Regions from separate parts of the Homo sapiens genome. Here regions 1, 2, 3 and 4 are each linked to region 5. Evidence: promoter capture Hi-C in human tissues and cell types (Jung and others, 2019). All regions are on one chromosome and are shown on one strand. Each heading gives the region's core, a stretch centred on a gene start or on the middle of the fragment in contact. The rest is flanking DNA. Distances are from core to core; before and after follow the strand shown.

Region 1 (2,713 bases), core at 25-2,524, 680 kb before region 5:
TGAGATGTGATTAAAAATTGACATTGCAGCAAGGAAGAACACATGCAATGCGTTGGCGTGGCAACCGGAATAGTTAAATTCTGCATAAATTTAAACCTGTCGATCACAGCAATTTGGAGAATTTGCCTACATTTCATTAGGAACCCTTTTCTCATCTGGCCTGGGAGGGAATCAGGAGCCTGGTGGTCTGACATGTGGCCATGACTTAAGGCCAAGTAAAATCAAGGGATTAAATTAAATCATTGGTGTGGGAGAGGGGCTGGATGGTGGACTGTACCAAAAGTTACCCTGTTTTCATCTGCATACCCTACATCATTTAGTCACTCAACAGATATTTATTAAGCACCCACTCTGTGCCCCGCTCTGGGCTAGGTACTAGGAATACAAAAACTAATATTTCCTACCCTCTTGGAGCTTGAAACCTCTTAGCCTCTGGAATTACTCAAATCTATGTGAAGTGCCAGCTGTGGTATGTGTAAGCGAGACAGGTATCTTGTGTTACCAGAACCAATAACAAGGAGATTTGATTAATTAGAGAGATCAGGTGGAGGCGAAGAGATCAGTCAAAGTGAAGCAGAGAGGGGCAGTGATTGCTACACCACCACAGGAACCCAAACTGAAAACGACCATACGCCATGAAGTGGGTGATAGTCTTTACCAATGTCGAAATGGAGGACCTGGGGGATACTGATGTTACCCAGCCCTTCGCAGTGGGGTCACCCAAAAGTAGACGCGGCTAATGCCGCTCTTTATGCCCGGCAGGGCCAGGACCAGAGTCCCCGCACGAGGGTTCCTCTCTCCGGTCGCACGTGCCCTTCACCCTTCCTGAGGCCGTTTTCTGACGCTCCTGAGCTCCCCTCCAGGGTGAGGGCAGGCGCGGTGGGAAGGCGTTGGACAGAGCAGACACTCGGCTGGGGTGCATGCCTGGGTGCAGCCTCGTCTTTTGTCACTAACCACTCAGCTCGGTAGCCCTCCAGGCTCTCTCTTCGAGCTCCGCGGTCCCTGCGCCCCCGCTGCGCTCTGCTAGCTGTGATGCAGGGGTTCGGGGGCAGGAAAAATCTCGACCCGCCACGCCCGTGCGGCAAACCTGTCCTAGGTTGAGGGGGCATGAGGCGCGCACAACCAGGGCCTCGAAGGCAGGCAAGAGGGCGCGGGCGCCACAGAAGCCTGGGCCTGCGCCTGGGCCGGGCAGATGTGCCCGGCGCTCGGGCCCCGCGCTCTGCGTCCTGCAGGGAGGCGGACCCGCCCCCCGAACGCGCAGGCGCGCGGCGCCCGGCTCGGACCGTAGCTAGGCGCTGGGCGGCCACCGGCTGGCCAGGCAGGTAAGCAACCAGCGGTGCGTGGGCTCAGACCTTGCGTCCCCTGGGCGCCGCGCCACCCCGCTCCGTCCAGGGCGGCGAGGGCTCAGGTCTGCGGCCCCGGCGTCTCGCTCCTTCCGAGCGCCTCCGGCGGGGGGCGCGGGCTGGGGAGGAGGTTCGGGAAAACGCCGGGGAAAGCGGTCTGGGCGGAGCGCGCAGGGGGCCAGGCGGGTGCGGGACTCCAGGCCCAGCCGACCCTGCGGCGTGGCTTCGGGCTGCGATCAGGAGGGGCGAGGAGGGTGGAGGCTGCGTGTTTGGAGATACGCAATCAATTAAGAGTTTTTTTATTAATGGAAAGGTGTGGAGGGCGGGGTTTTGGTTTTCTTGGGAAATGAATGAGTCATTTGGCAAACTTTCCTACCATTAATTTTGGATTTTTATAATGGAATATGGAATTTTTTTTGTTTCTCTCTCTTTTTTTTTTTTTGGCCATAAAGAGAAAGAATAAAAAGAATTCCGCCATTTTAGCGTTTTAAAAAGTAACCGTTCTGCGGAACTGTCGGATCAGTGACCGCCCCGCCCGCCTTTGCCTATACCAGTCCCGGGAGGCTGGTGGCGGGTCCCGATCCTGGAACCCTGCGCTCAGGGCCGCTTCCGTCCCCTCCCGAGTCCGGGAAGCAGCTGCGGCGAGGGGCGGGGCCGAGGCCCCAAGTTTGTAGCGCTCAGCCTTGCTGTGTGTTGTTTTCTGGGTAGCTGTCGAGGGCTCTACTCCCCACCCAACACCTATAGTAAGGACATTTATTGGTCGTTTTTGTATACAAGGCCTTGGAAGGCAAGGGATTGAGAAAACCTTGTCAGACATCAAGAGAAAATACCCATGGACACATTCAGCCAACAGATATTTATTGAGCATCTGCTATGTGCACGGCTCTGGGCTGGGGCTACAATGGTTGTTTTAGGTCGGGTCCCCCGAAACAGACTCCGATAGCAAGATTTGAGTGTAGGTTTATCGGAGTGCTCTTGCGAATATCACCAGTAGGGGAATGACGGGTTGGGCGGAAGAAGAAGCTGAACTGCTGATGTAGTCTCAACAGAGGCCTCAGCCTGACCTAATGGAAGCTCTGGAACTGAGATGGCCCTGCAGAGGTGTTCCAAAGTAAGGCAAGGGGGTGGGGTCTTTACACCTCATAGCAACTCGTCATTGGCTGGCGGCTTCTAGGAGAGCCTTCAAGTGAGGTAGCTCCCTAGGCTCAGAGCAGTTCCAAGAGAGGCTGACGGCAGAAGGCTGAAAACTTTCTTCAGTGTCCACCAGAAACCCAGACTCTTCTGAGTCCCCCCTCACTTCATGGCAGACTCCTTCTCAGTCCCTTTTGCTAGACCCTTTTCCTCTTCCCAACCTATAAATGTGGGTGTGC
Region 2 (2,700 bases), core at 79-2,578, 720 kb before region 5:
AAGTCAAGATCAAGGTCCAGGTCGAGTTCCAGAGATTAACTCAGAACTCCTTGTTTGCACATTATTATGGAACACTTTCCTACTTAGGCAGTTACTCTTCCATGTTTATACTTGGCCTCTTCTGCAAGAGGAATCTCTTGAAAACAGGGGCACACAGAAATTTGATTTGTGGCCAAATTGGATGAAAAAGATGAGGCTCTAAGGAAATGGTGGCATGAAGACCCTCTCCCTTCTTTGTAGAATTAAGATAACTTTGATTTTATAGCTTTTGAGCTAACGTAACTTTTGTAAAGATTAAGCTCATTTAGTGTTGTTTTTTTTTTTTTTTTTTTTTTTTTTTTTTTTTTTTTAGTATTTCAGCAGGATCTGCTGGCAGGGTTTTTTTGTTTTATTTGTTTGCTTATTTTTAAATTAACTGTTTTGAGCTTTGAATACTTAAGGCTTTAGAGGGAGAACCCAATTTTCAATTATGTTGGCTTTTTATAAAGCTTGAGTTATGTAAGATTTAAATAAAAGTTTGCTACCAAGATGATTGCCTTATTGAATAGGTCACTATTAAATTCCTTTAAATGTTGATATCTGCCATTTGTGGAAACAACGTAAATTCTACTTAAGTGTAAACAAGGCAAGCCTCAGACCAGCAATAAATTACTCAGTTTGGATAACATTATTTTGTGCAGTTAATCAAATTTGCCAAAGTCTTTATCTGCCCCTTTAACAAGTTGAGTAAAAATAAAAGGTATTTTTTAGTCAATGTGTTCCATGATTTTGCTTAAATTAATACTTTTAAGTAATGGAACTTTTTTCAAAGGCAAATTTAAACTATTTAAGAAATAGCTCCTAATACTTGGGATCTTGTTTAGAGAATCCACTTTCTGGAAGTTCTCAGCATAATTAGTGTTGAGAGTGGTTCAGTTGTCTTTAATGTTTGTCATGTGGAAATGGAAGTAGCCTCTTTTTGTTCTGAAATTGAGTTTATTCAAAGTGTAAAAGCACATACTGCATTTTCTGCTGAAAGATCATTATGTTTAACAGGCACTTAATCTCAGTAAAGTCAGTTGCCAGTTAAGTTCCACCCAGTAGTCAGTCCCCTTTGTAGTTAGTGGGATTATTTGATAATTGGTTAGATCATACTTGTAAATTTTAATGCTTTGTGTAATTGGTTTGAAAAACAGTGAAATGGGTAAACGCAAAACTTTTGTACTTTATTACGAGTAAAGTGTAATGAGTACTGTGGAAACCAAATTTGAATACTGCAAATTTGTAGGAGTTACTAGGTTAGCAATTAGTCCATACATCCATAAGCCTGATGAGTTGAAATTGCAGTTTGAGAAGTGAATTAACCTTACATCCCTTTGTTCAGATACCTTAAAAGTTACTTTATTTAAAAGCATTTATTAATCTTAGTCTGAAATCAAAATATAGATTAATTGGCTCAGCTTTAATACCTTTCTAGGAGGTGTCACAATGTAGGGTACCAAGGGTTGGATTGTGATGGGGCATGGTCGTACACTGCTCATTGTGCCACAGGTGTGACTGGAAAGCATGATATTCTAGGGTTGGTTTGTAGATTCAAATAATCCAGAAATATACCTAATAAGATTGAGTGAAAAATTTGAGTCAAATATCTAGGGCATTCACAGAGTAGCTGTGAGTTCTTGGTAATGTGAAAAAGGCCTTGTTTTTCAGAAATTCCTGGGTTTCCTGTTAAAAAATCTTAAAGCCCAACCTTAGGAATATAGTGCCCCAAAAGGCGGATGCTTCTTCCATTATCTTATTTTCTTTGATACTTTATTTAATTAGATGTTTATAAAGAAATGGGTTTATTTTTCCAGCATAAACCTCAGAATTTAAGGAAAGAAAATGATGTCTGTTGTTATAGTTCATTGTTTTGCCTACTCAGCAGAAGTGATGACTCTTAAAAATTGGCTTTGACCAAAGTTCTCTTGTTTTCAGGGAAAGAACATAAAAGCTTTTTGAACTACAGCCTTTTTAAAAGAGGGATGGGAGGATATTACAGTAAGAAATTAGGCTTTCTAAAAGTATGAAACATCCTTCAACTGGGCTCTCTTGTTAATAGGACATCATATGGTAATAGACTGGTTTGACTATATTGTTAGCTGCCACAGTAAGCAGGTCATTGTATAGGTAAATGCCTGCACCCATAATTTTCTAGTAATAGCCACGACCAATTTATTAACAGTCAGGGCCTATCCTTGCCTGTAGTTCTCAGTCACTGGATGCACAAAATCACTGTGTAACATTGGCTCACTTGGTGAGCATAGGGTTGACTGATAAAATGTTTAATTCCCTTGCTAGCTTGTGAGAAGAATGAGTTGATGACATGCTCCATACCAGTGGCTAGATGGAGTATTAAGGTGGAGCAGAAAAGAAGTGAGAACATCTTGATTCCCCTTTCTTTTACTTGATGGTGTTTATGAACATGCCGTAGTGCCTTTATGGCCAGTTTGAGTCCTGCCTACTTTGACTTTTACGTTCCCATTCCTGTGTTACCACCTTCCTCCCGATTTGTTCACCTATTTTGTGCTTTAAATCTCAATAAAATACTTACTGAGGGAAAGGCTTGTTTTGAGTTTATTGCATATGCCCACTTAGGACCAGATTCTTAACAAATGTTTTTTTGAATTGGAGTTTGCATTGGCAAGCCATTCCTGTCTTGAGTATGAGAACAGGATCTTG
Region 3 (2,700 bases), core at 183-2,682, 660 kb before region 5:
TCGCTAATAAGAATACAAAAAAAAAAATTAGCTGGGCATGGTGGTGCACGCCTGTAATCCCAGCTACTCAGGAGGTTGAGGCAGGAGAATCACTTGAACCTGGGAAACGGAGGTTGCAGTGAGCCGAGATCCGCCACTGCACTCCAGCCTGGGTGACAGAGTGAGACCCTGTCTCAAAAAAAAATAATAAAAATAAATAAAGTAAAATGTCAGAATATGCAAAAATGCTGTACTTATTTCTGTTAATACCTTGAAAATAGTGGAAGTTTGAAGATTTTTAATTCTTAAAGAGTCCAAGCTGGAAGATGACTGCTACTGATGGGGTTTGTTCAACGTACTGATTCCAAGCTTGGCGACCATCAGCAAACTGGTACCTGCAATTAAACCTGGAGACATAAATTTTCCAGAGTGGTAGAATCTCATTCCCATAATGCCAGCCAAGGTCTCAGACGTAGCAAGGAAAACCCAAGCATCCCTTGGATCCTGAGAGCTGATAAGCACCCAGGCCTGTTAAACCCCCAGAGAGGAATAGCATTCTACCTGCTTTTGCATAGTCAGTGATCCCTCCAGAGGCAACCAGTGCTGCGTAGCCAAAACCCAAACCAGTGCAAAGGCACTAGTGGACCAGTATCCTGCGGCATTGTTCTCTTCTCACCCTGTCCTGTGCAGACAGTAGACTATAGCAGGCCTGCATTTGCACCGCTCTCCTGAAGGTCTGTACTGGTCAACAAGATCTCCTTATCCTTTTAATATCTATAGGACATTTTTAAATTTCTCTTATTTTCTTTTTATTTTTAACTTTTTTTAAAGATAGAAATAGGGGAGGCCAAGGCGGGCGAATTGCCTGAGGTCAGGAGTTTGAGACCAGCCTGGCCAACGTGGTGAAACCCCATCTCTACTAAAAATACAAAAAATTAGCTGGGTGTGGTGGCGCATACCTGTAATCCCAGCTACTCGGGAGGCTGAGGCAGGATAATCACTTGAACCGGGGAGGCGGAGGTTGCAGTGAGCTGAGATCGTGCCACTGCACTCCAACCTGGGTGACAGTGAGACTCCATCTCAAAAAAAAAAAAAAAAAAGAAACAGGATGTCACTATGTTGGCCAGGCTGGTCTGGAACTCCTGGCCTTAAGCAATCCTCCTACCTCAGCCTCCCAGAGTTTTTCTTTGTTTATTAATCAGTCTTTCCAGAAACTTACTAATTTTATTTGTCTTTTAAAAAAAATTTATTTCCATTTTCTTTGGGTTAATTTTACTTTTCTAACTTCATGAGACAGATTTATTTTGATTTTTAAATTTCATTAATTTTAGCCATCCTCCTTTTCTAATATGTTTATTTAAGGCTGTCATTTTCCTCTAAATACTGCTTTGGCTGCATCTCAGTTTTTGATACATAGTTATTTCCATCGTTGTTCTTTTATTTAACAAATACTAAGTGCCTCCTATGTACCAGATAGTGGGCTAGATACTAAGAGTTCAGAGTAAGCAAAACACAGTACTAGCACTTAATGAGCTCATAATCTAGTTGCAGAAATAGATATGTCAACAGATTATTATGTAACCATATAATAAGTGTTATGTTTGAGGTATGTAAATACAAGGGGCTGTCACAGAACAAACTCTGCCTGCTGGAGTATAGAAAGGTTCCATGGGGTAGATGGGATGATATTCATCCATCCATCCACTCATCCATCCATCCATCCTTATAGTCATTTAACAAGCATTTGTTGTGCATCTATTTTATGTAAGTCTTGTGCTAGGTGCTGGAACTATGGCTACGTCTTGAAGGATGTGAAAAAAATAGGCTAATAGAACAAGGTGGGGGTGGGATTTTAAAGCAGAAGTATCAACCTATGCAAAGGCACAGAGGCTCAGGGGCATGGAAATGCATGATGAAGCTGGCATGATGGGGAGTAGCTAGTTCACCAAGGCTGTGTGTGGTGTGGAAAGGTGTTTAGATTTTGGGGTTTTGGGTTGGAAATGAGAAGCCATGGAACTTAAAGAAAATAAACACGTTTTTTCATTTGATATGTATTCTGGCAGTAGAATAAGTGTGAGGCAGAGACCAGTTAAGAGGCTTTTGGACTAGGCTCAAAGCAAGGACAGTAAATGTGGAGAGATGGATATAGATCCAAGAGATAACTAGGAGTTGGAATCAGTAGAATGGAAGGATCCTGGGGAGTTAAAAAAAAAAAAAAAGGCATAAAGTATCACTTCCAAGTTTCTGGCTTGCGTGACTGGATGAATGGATGGTGGCGCCATTGACTAGGGTAACGAATACCGAAAGGGCCACAGGCTTTGGCAGAGAAGTTACAAGTTTGGTTTTAGATCAGGCTGAGCTTGCCAAAGAAAGTGCTATCCAAGAGCATCTGGTCTAAGGAAGCAGGAATAAACAAAGGAGCATTTCTGGAAGTGGAGAGAGGATCAGTGCCACCGCTAGCCAATATGGTACCTTTGTACAAGTTATTAAAAAAAAAAGCATCTCTCCAGGGCAGACCAATTAGAAAAGGGCAACCTTTCTTCACAGTAGACTCAGCCACTTGGCTTGGCAGAAAGCCCAGGATGGATTTTAGCCCCATTCACACCCTTGGCTGGGTACCTATGTATAGTGCACAGATTATACAACCATACACAGGAGCCTTGGGACTTACTTGGGTTTAGGGATATGCCTAAGAGCTCAGCCCATTGTTCAACAATAGAA
Region 4 (2,700 bases), core at 174-2,673, 570 kb before region 5:
CAAAAGTCATAGGGTAGATGAGATTTTACTGAAGGAATGGGGAAGATTAACACCAGAGGGAGGCCAGGCCCGGTGGTTTATGCTTGTAATTCCAGCACTTTCGGAGGTCAAGGTGGGCGGATTGCCTGAGCTCAGGAGTTCAAGACCAGCCTGGGCAACATGGTGAAACCCCGTTTCTACAAAAAATATAAAAATTAGTAGGTGTGGTGGCATGCACCTGTGGTCCCAGCTACTCAGGGCACTAAGGCAAGAGAATCGCTTCAGCCCAGGAGATTGAGGCTGCAGTGAGCCATGTTCATACCACTGCACTCCAGCCTGGGCAACAAAGTGAGATCCTGTCTTAAAAAACAAAACAAAACAAACAAAAACACTAGAGGGAAATAATTTTAAACTTAAGCCAAAAAGAATTTTTGTTGTCTAAAGAAAAAGGGAAATTAAAATCTCTATGAGGAACCCCTCATGGGTGCTTCCCCTATACCCCCTCCCCCAGTTTCTAACCTTACGCCCTGGTGTTGAGATCTGTGTTTCTCTCCATTCTGAGAGCACTTCCTTCAAGCTTTGCAGAGCTCCATCTTTGAGTAAAACCCTAACCCCTCCTACATGGGTTGGCTTCACCCCAGAATCTGCACCCCACCTTTGCTCCTCTATCCCACACCCTCTCCAGGAGTACATTGCCCCAGGTCAGACCAATTCACTCTAGATAATCTAAGACAAGTCTTTGTTAGGACAGTGGAGAGTAGAGGAGGGACTCCAAAGCAGATCTGTGTAGAAGTGTCCATTATAGCGTATATTTATGCCTCTGTTCATGTGACATTTAACTGGTAACATACCCATCCAGTGATATACATTAATTCTTAGAGATAGCACTAGCCAAACCTAAGGAAGAAGAACGTATTTACCAGTAAGATATTATTATGCAGAGCAGCTTGAGTTCAGTTCTTGGATGAGGCCCCATCCTCTTCCTCCTCCCTCCATCAGGGGCTTCTTTAGTTCTCCCAGTTACAGTCACTTACACTTTCCTGTTAATTTACTTTCATGTTTTTTAAAATGCTTTATTAAATGTGTAGCTAGAGTTGTCCCAGTTTTTAAGTTAACAAACCAAAGCTTAGAAAAAATTTTTTGTTTGATAATGAATCAAAGAGTGTTACTCAGCTGAGCACCGTGGCACACGCCTGTAATCCCAGCACTTTGGGAGGCCAAGGTGGGCAGATCACTTGAGGCCAGGAGTTCAAGACCAGCCTGGTCAACATGGTAAAACCCTGGCTCTACTAAAAATACAAAAATTAACTGGGCGTGATAGCAGGCACTGAGGCTGCAGAACAGCTTAAACCTGAGAGGCGGAGGTTACAGTGAGCCAAGATCGCACCACTGCACTGCAGCCTGGGTGACTGAGTGAGACTGTTTCAAAAAAGAGTGTTACTCAAGAAACATTGAGATTATTTTCAGAATTTTTGTATTCATGTTTTTAAAATTTGAATGTGTTTCTTTAATTTCTTACAGGGCTCTCACCTTTGTGTATCCTTTTGGTGCCACATTGAGTGTCATGAAACCAGCAGTGGCGGTTCTGTCTACAGGTTCTGTCTGCTTCCCACTTAACAGACCCATTTTGGCTTTCTATCACTCAAAGGTACAGCTTTTCTTAGATATGGGTATAGATGTTATTTTTATTGTTGAAATAATAAAAACCACCTTACCATTTCCAGAAGGCTTCTATATGTTTTCTCACTGGTCTTCCTGCCAGTCCTGCAAAGTAGCATTTCAGCTATATACATTTTGCTTATGGGGAAACAGTGGATTGTCCAGTAATTGATGAAGTTAAGGCCTAAACCTAGCTCTTATTATTCTAAACCCGAAGCTTTTCCACTGTAGCATGAGGCTACCTGTATTATAACTTTTTTTTTTTTTTTGAGATGGAGTCTCTGTTGCCCAGGCTGGAGTGCAGTGGTGCAATCTCGGCTCACTGCAAGCTCCACCTCCCGGGTTCACGCCATTCTCCTGCCTCAGCCTCCCGAGTAGCTAAGACTACAGGCACCTACCACCACGCCCAGCTAATTTTTTGTATTTTTAGTAGAGACAGGGTTTCACCATGTTAGCCAGGATGGTCTCGATCTCCTGACCATCCTGCCTCGTGGTCCACCCGCCTTGGCCTCCCGAAGTGCTGTATTATAACTTTTAAAATAACTTTTTTTTTTTTTTGATCCCATGGCAGCATATTGATGAAAATAACTTTTAATCCTGTCTGTGACTATGGGCTGTCACCCTCAGTGTAAAGAGAATACATTCAGGAACAGATGGAGTTAACATATTACACAAAATAGCACAGAATTATGTTGCTGTTAGTTTATACTAGGAAAATATATCAGAAAACTATTTTTCCAGTTATTATCCTAGAGACCCCATAGAAATGTGGGCACAGCTAGTCCCAGGCAGTGACCCAACATCCCACTGCCTTTCTTTTTCTTTTTTTTTTTTTTTTTGAGATGGAGTCTCACTCTGTTGTGCAGGCTGGAGTACAGTGGCATGATCTTGGCTCACTGCAACCTCCGCCTACCAGGTTCAAGCAATTCTCCTGCCTCAGCCTCCCGAGTAGCTGGGATTACAGGTGCCTGCCACCAAGCATGGCTAATTTTTGTATTTTTGGGAGAGATGGAGTTTCACTATGTTGGCCAGGCTGATCTCGAACTCCTGACCTCAAGTGAT
Region 5 (2,757 bases), core at 115-2,614:
TGGATGGATGAATGGATGGATGGACGGGTGGGTGGATTGGTGTGTGGATAGATGATGAGTGGATAGTTGGATGGGTGGATGGATGGATGGGTGGGTGGATGAATACTCCTCATGATCTATTGCTTGAAAATAATTTTCATGGCAAAGTTAAGACTAGACCCTAATTCTGCTAGAGTATATTCCATGGCTGTTTATGTTGGGGCATACCGAACATGCTAATGGTAGTAGTTATATTTTATTGTGTGTTGAGTGTGCACTTACATGGCAGGCTTTGTACTAAGCACTGCCACTAATCCTCTCAATAACCCCTTTATTAGCTCCATCTTTACTACAAGAAAATGGAAGCTCAGAAAGGTAGAGCAGCTTGCCCAAAACCACACAGCAAATCACTTCCTAGCCCATCTGATTCTGTGCCAATTGCCGGTCGCCTTTCCCACCCTCCACCAGGGTTTCTCACCCTCCCTGGCTCCACCCCACCTCTGCGGGCCCCCAGCTGGCCTCACCTCCATCAGCATAGGTCTCGGTGCCATAGCCGTCTTGCAGGCCATTGTTCCAGGTGCCCTCATACTTGGCACCGCTGCTTGAGCTCTGCCGGATTCCGTAGCGTCCCTTGAAGCCATGTGTCCACTCGCCCTTGTAGAGCCAGCGCCCCTTGGTCTCTATGCCCAGCCCATGCCGTTTGCCCTGGCTCCAGTATCCCTCAAAGGTGTTTCCGCTGGGCCAGGTGTAGACACCTGCCACCTCAAAGCCAAAGTTCCAGGAGCCAGAGTATTCGCCCTGGCCCTTGGGGCCTGTGCACAGTCCATGCCCATGGGCCTTTCCCCCCTCCCAGCCCCCGCAGTACGCCCCTCCATCATCAAAGTCGAAGCGGCCCCCACTCATCTCATCATAGCCCCTGACAACCTCCCCGTCCTCCAGCGTGGGTGCAGAGGGCGTGGGTGATGCCTGCAACACTCCTCCAGTGCCCTCGGGGGCAGGCCCCCAGACTCACCACTGCACCCCAGGAGGGGGGAAGCAGGATGCCAGCAGAGGCTGAAAGAGCCCCGGCGCCAAGTCAGCACCGGGTCGGCTAGTCAGTGCCATGCCCGGGAGCCCCGACTCCACCAGCCAGAGCAAGGCTGCCTGCTGGAAAGAAAGCAGGAAGGAAAGGTTCAAAGTCCCCACAAAGCGTCCCAAGTCTGCCTTCCAAGAAGTCCAAGGGAAAACGGTGTGATCTCTTTAAGAAGCCCAGTGAAAGGGTGGGGTGGAGGGGTCCCCAGCCTTTTCAAAGAGGGGAAATTCCCCTCGGTGGCAGCCCCCGCCGGAGGCTGAATTCCCGCAGCCCGCTGGCCCCCTTCTCCACCCCAGTGGGTGTGCGGGGCTGTCGGTCTCCCCGCCGCTGCCCCGCCCCCTTCTCCAATCCTGCCCTCCTTCTGGGACGGAAAGGTCAGTGTTGCCCTAACAAGGCCATTGGATCTCAGAAGCTGCTCCCAAAATAACCCCCAGCCAGCCCAGCCTTCTTCAAAGCGGGAAGGAGGGGTATTTCAAATCGCGCCCGTGCCGCAGACCCGGGCAGTGGCTGGAGGCATGAGGAAGGAGGCTGAGAACTGAGTGCAGGCAGCCCAGGGAACCTGGTGTCTTTTCCTCCCGGGAATGAGAGCTCCCTTCCATTCTCAGAGTCCCCTGGGTCTGCGCGCAGGGAGGGCACCGGGGAATCGGGGAAGGGAGGGGAGAGGGAGACCAGCAGAACACCCAGTCCTGGAACACTGAAAATCCCCCAGAGCGAGGAGGTTGGCAGATCTCAGCCCCATCACCACTCACATGCCCTAAGGGGACCTGGGGTTACAGCACCACTGCCAGCCCCATCAAGGAATCCAGTGACCTAAAGAGAAAGGAATGGAGACAGTTTCACATGTGCTTCCGAAAGCAGAGGAGGGAAGTCAGAAAGAGAGGGGAGGCTGTGGAAACAGGGTCTGGAAGATACACAGAATCTCAGTCCAGTGCTCACTCACCACCCTGAGCTCCCTCCACCCCTGGAAGCCGGGGAGAACTTGGTGCAAGAAGCAACCATCTATTCCCTTTCTCTTTCTCCTGAAGGGCAAAGAGAAGGGAGAGGAGCCTGCCCTCCTCTCTGCCTGAGACACAGACTGGGCGTCCCGCTAGCTTCCTCTCCCCACCCCTTGATGCCTCGGCGCCCTCCCTGCCCCCTGCCGCAGACCCAGCAGACCCTGAAGGTCAAAGGAGTCCCCTTCCTGTCAACACAGGGTTGTGTTGTAATGAGGTCCTCTCAGAAATTCTCAAGGGTCATGATTTTTTAAAATTTCCCTTTCTGAGCTGTCTTTTGCTCTAGTGTCCTAGGAGCCTGTGAGGCCAGACTTCAGAAAGCTCTTGGGGCAGGGCCAGGAGAGAAGGGCCTGGGTGGATTCCCAGCCACTCAGGTTCCCACCAAACTCCAGTAAAAAGAACAAATAAATCTCCATGGCAAGAAGCTGTGGCCAGAGCTAATGATTGTAAATCCCAGCTAAGCCCAAGGTTAATGGGAGTATAGAGGAATTCTGGGAAAGGTAAGAGCCACCAAGACTAGGAAGATCTGTGTGTGTGTGTGTCTGTGCGTGTGTGTGAACGTGTGTCTGTGAGAGTGTGAGAGAGTGTGTGTGAGTGTATGTGAGTGTGTGTGGTAAGAGTGTGTGTGTTTGTGTGTGTGTGGTAAGTGTGTGTTTGTGTGAGTGTGTGTGGTAAGAGTGTGTGTGTTTGTATGTGTGTGTGGTAAGAGTGTGT

The links. Contacts are between HindIII fragments. The study calls those that stand out against the background at their distance.
Region 1: the fragment with the promoter of L3MBTL1 here is called in contact with the fragment with the promoter of JPH2 in region 5 in 4 of the 25 tissues and cell types used here (IMR-90 fibroblasts, adrenal gland, lymphoblastoid cells and 1 more).
Region 2: a fragment that was not itself captured here is called in contact with the fragment with the promoter of JPH2 in region 5 in 1 of the 25 tissues and cell types used here (hippocampus).
Region 3: a contact is called between a fragment that was not itself captured here and the fragment with the promoter of JPH2 in region 5, in 1 of the 25 tissues and cell types used here (spleen).
Region 4: a contact is called between a fragment that was not itself captured here and the fragment with the promoter of JPH2 in region 5, in 1 of the 25 tissues and cell types used here (dorsolateral prefrontal cortex).

Annotation. Positions count from the first base shown.
Region 1 is chr20:43,506,423-43,509,135 of GRCh38, forward strand. L3MBTL1 (L3MBTL histone methyl-lysine binding protein 1) reads left to right here and starts at 1,275. Exons shown (of 22, transcript NM_001377303.1): 1 at 1,275-1,322. RefSeq lists a silencer at 1,156-1,485. The HindIII fragment of the contact is 9,495 bases long and covers 1-2,713 here.
Region 2 is chr20:43,461,025-43,463,724 of GRCh38, forward strand. SRSF6 (serine and arginine rich splicing factor 6) reads left to right here. Exons shown (of 6, transcript NM_006275.6): 6 at 1-2,700. The coding sequence ends at 39. Among named protein-coding and RNA genes, the nearest start is that of SRSF6, 4.5 kb to the left of the region's middle. The HindIII fragment of the contact is 4,185 bases long and covers 1-2,700 here.
Region 3 is chr20:43,522,932-43,525,631 of GRCh38, forward strand. All of the region lies in intron 7 of L3MBTL1 (L3MBTL histone methyl-lysine binding protein 1), which reads left to right. It also overlaps the pseudogene LOC107985380. Among named protein-coding and RNA genes, the nearest start is that of L3MBTL1, 17 kb to the left of the region's middle. The HindIII fragment of the contact is 4,063 bases long and covers 1-2,700 here.
Region 4 is chr20:43,612,350-43,615,049 of GRCh38, forward strand. It overlaps IFT52 (intraflagellar transport 52), which reads left to right. Exons shown (of 14, transcript NM_016004.5): 7 at 1,501-1,627. Among named protein-coding and RNA genes, the nearest start is that of IFT52, 23 kb to the left of the region's middle. The HindIII fragment of the contact is 3,361 bases long and covers 1-2,700 here.
Region 5 is chr20:44,185,824-44,188,580 of GRCh38, forward strand. JPH2 (junctophilin 2) reads right to left here and starts at 1,365. Exons shown (of 6, transcript NM_020433.5): 1 at 504-1,365. The coding sequence starts at 882. The HindIII fragment of the contact is 16,539 bases long and covers 1-2,757 here.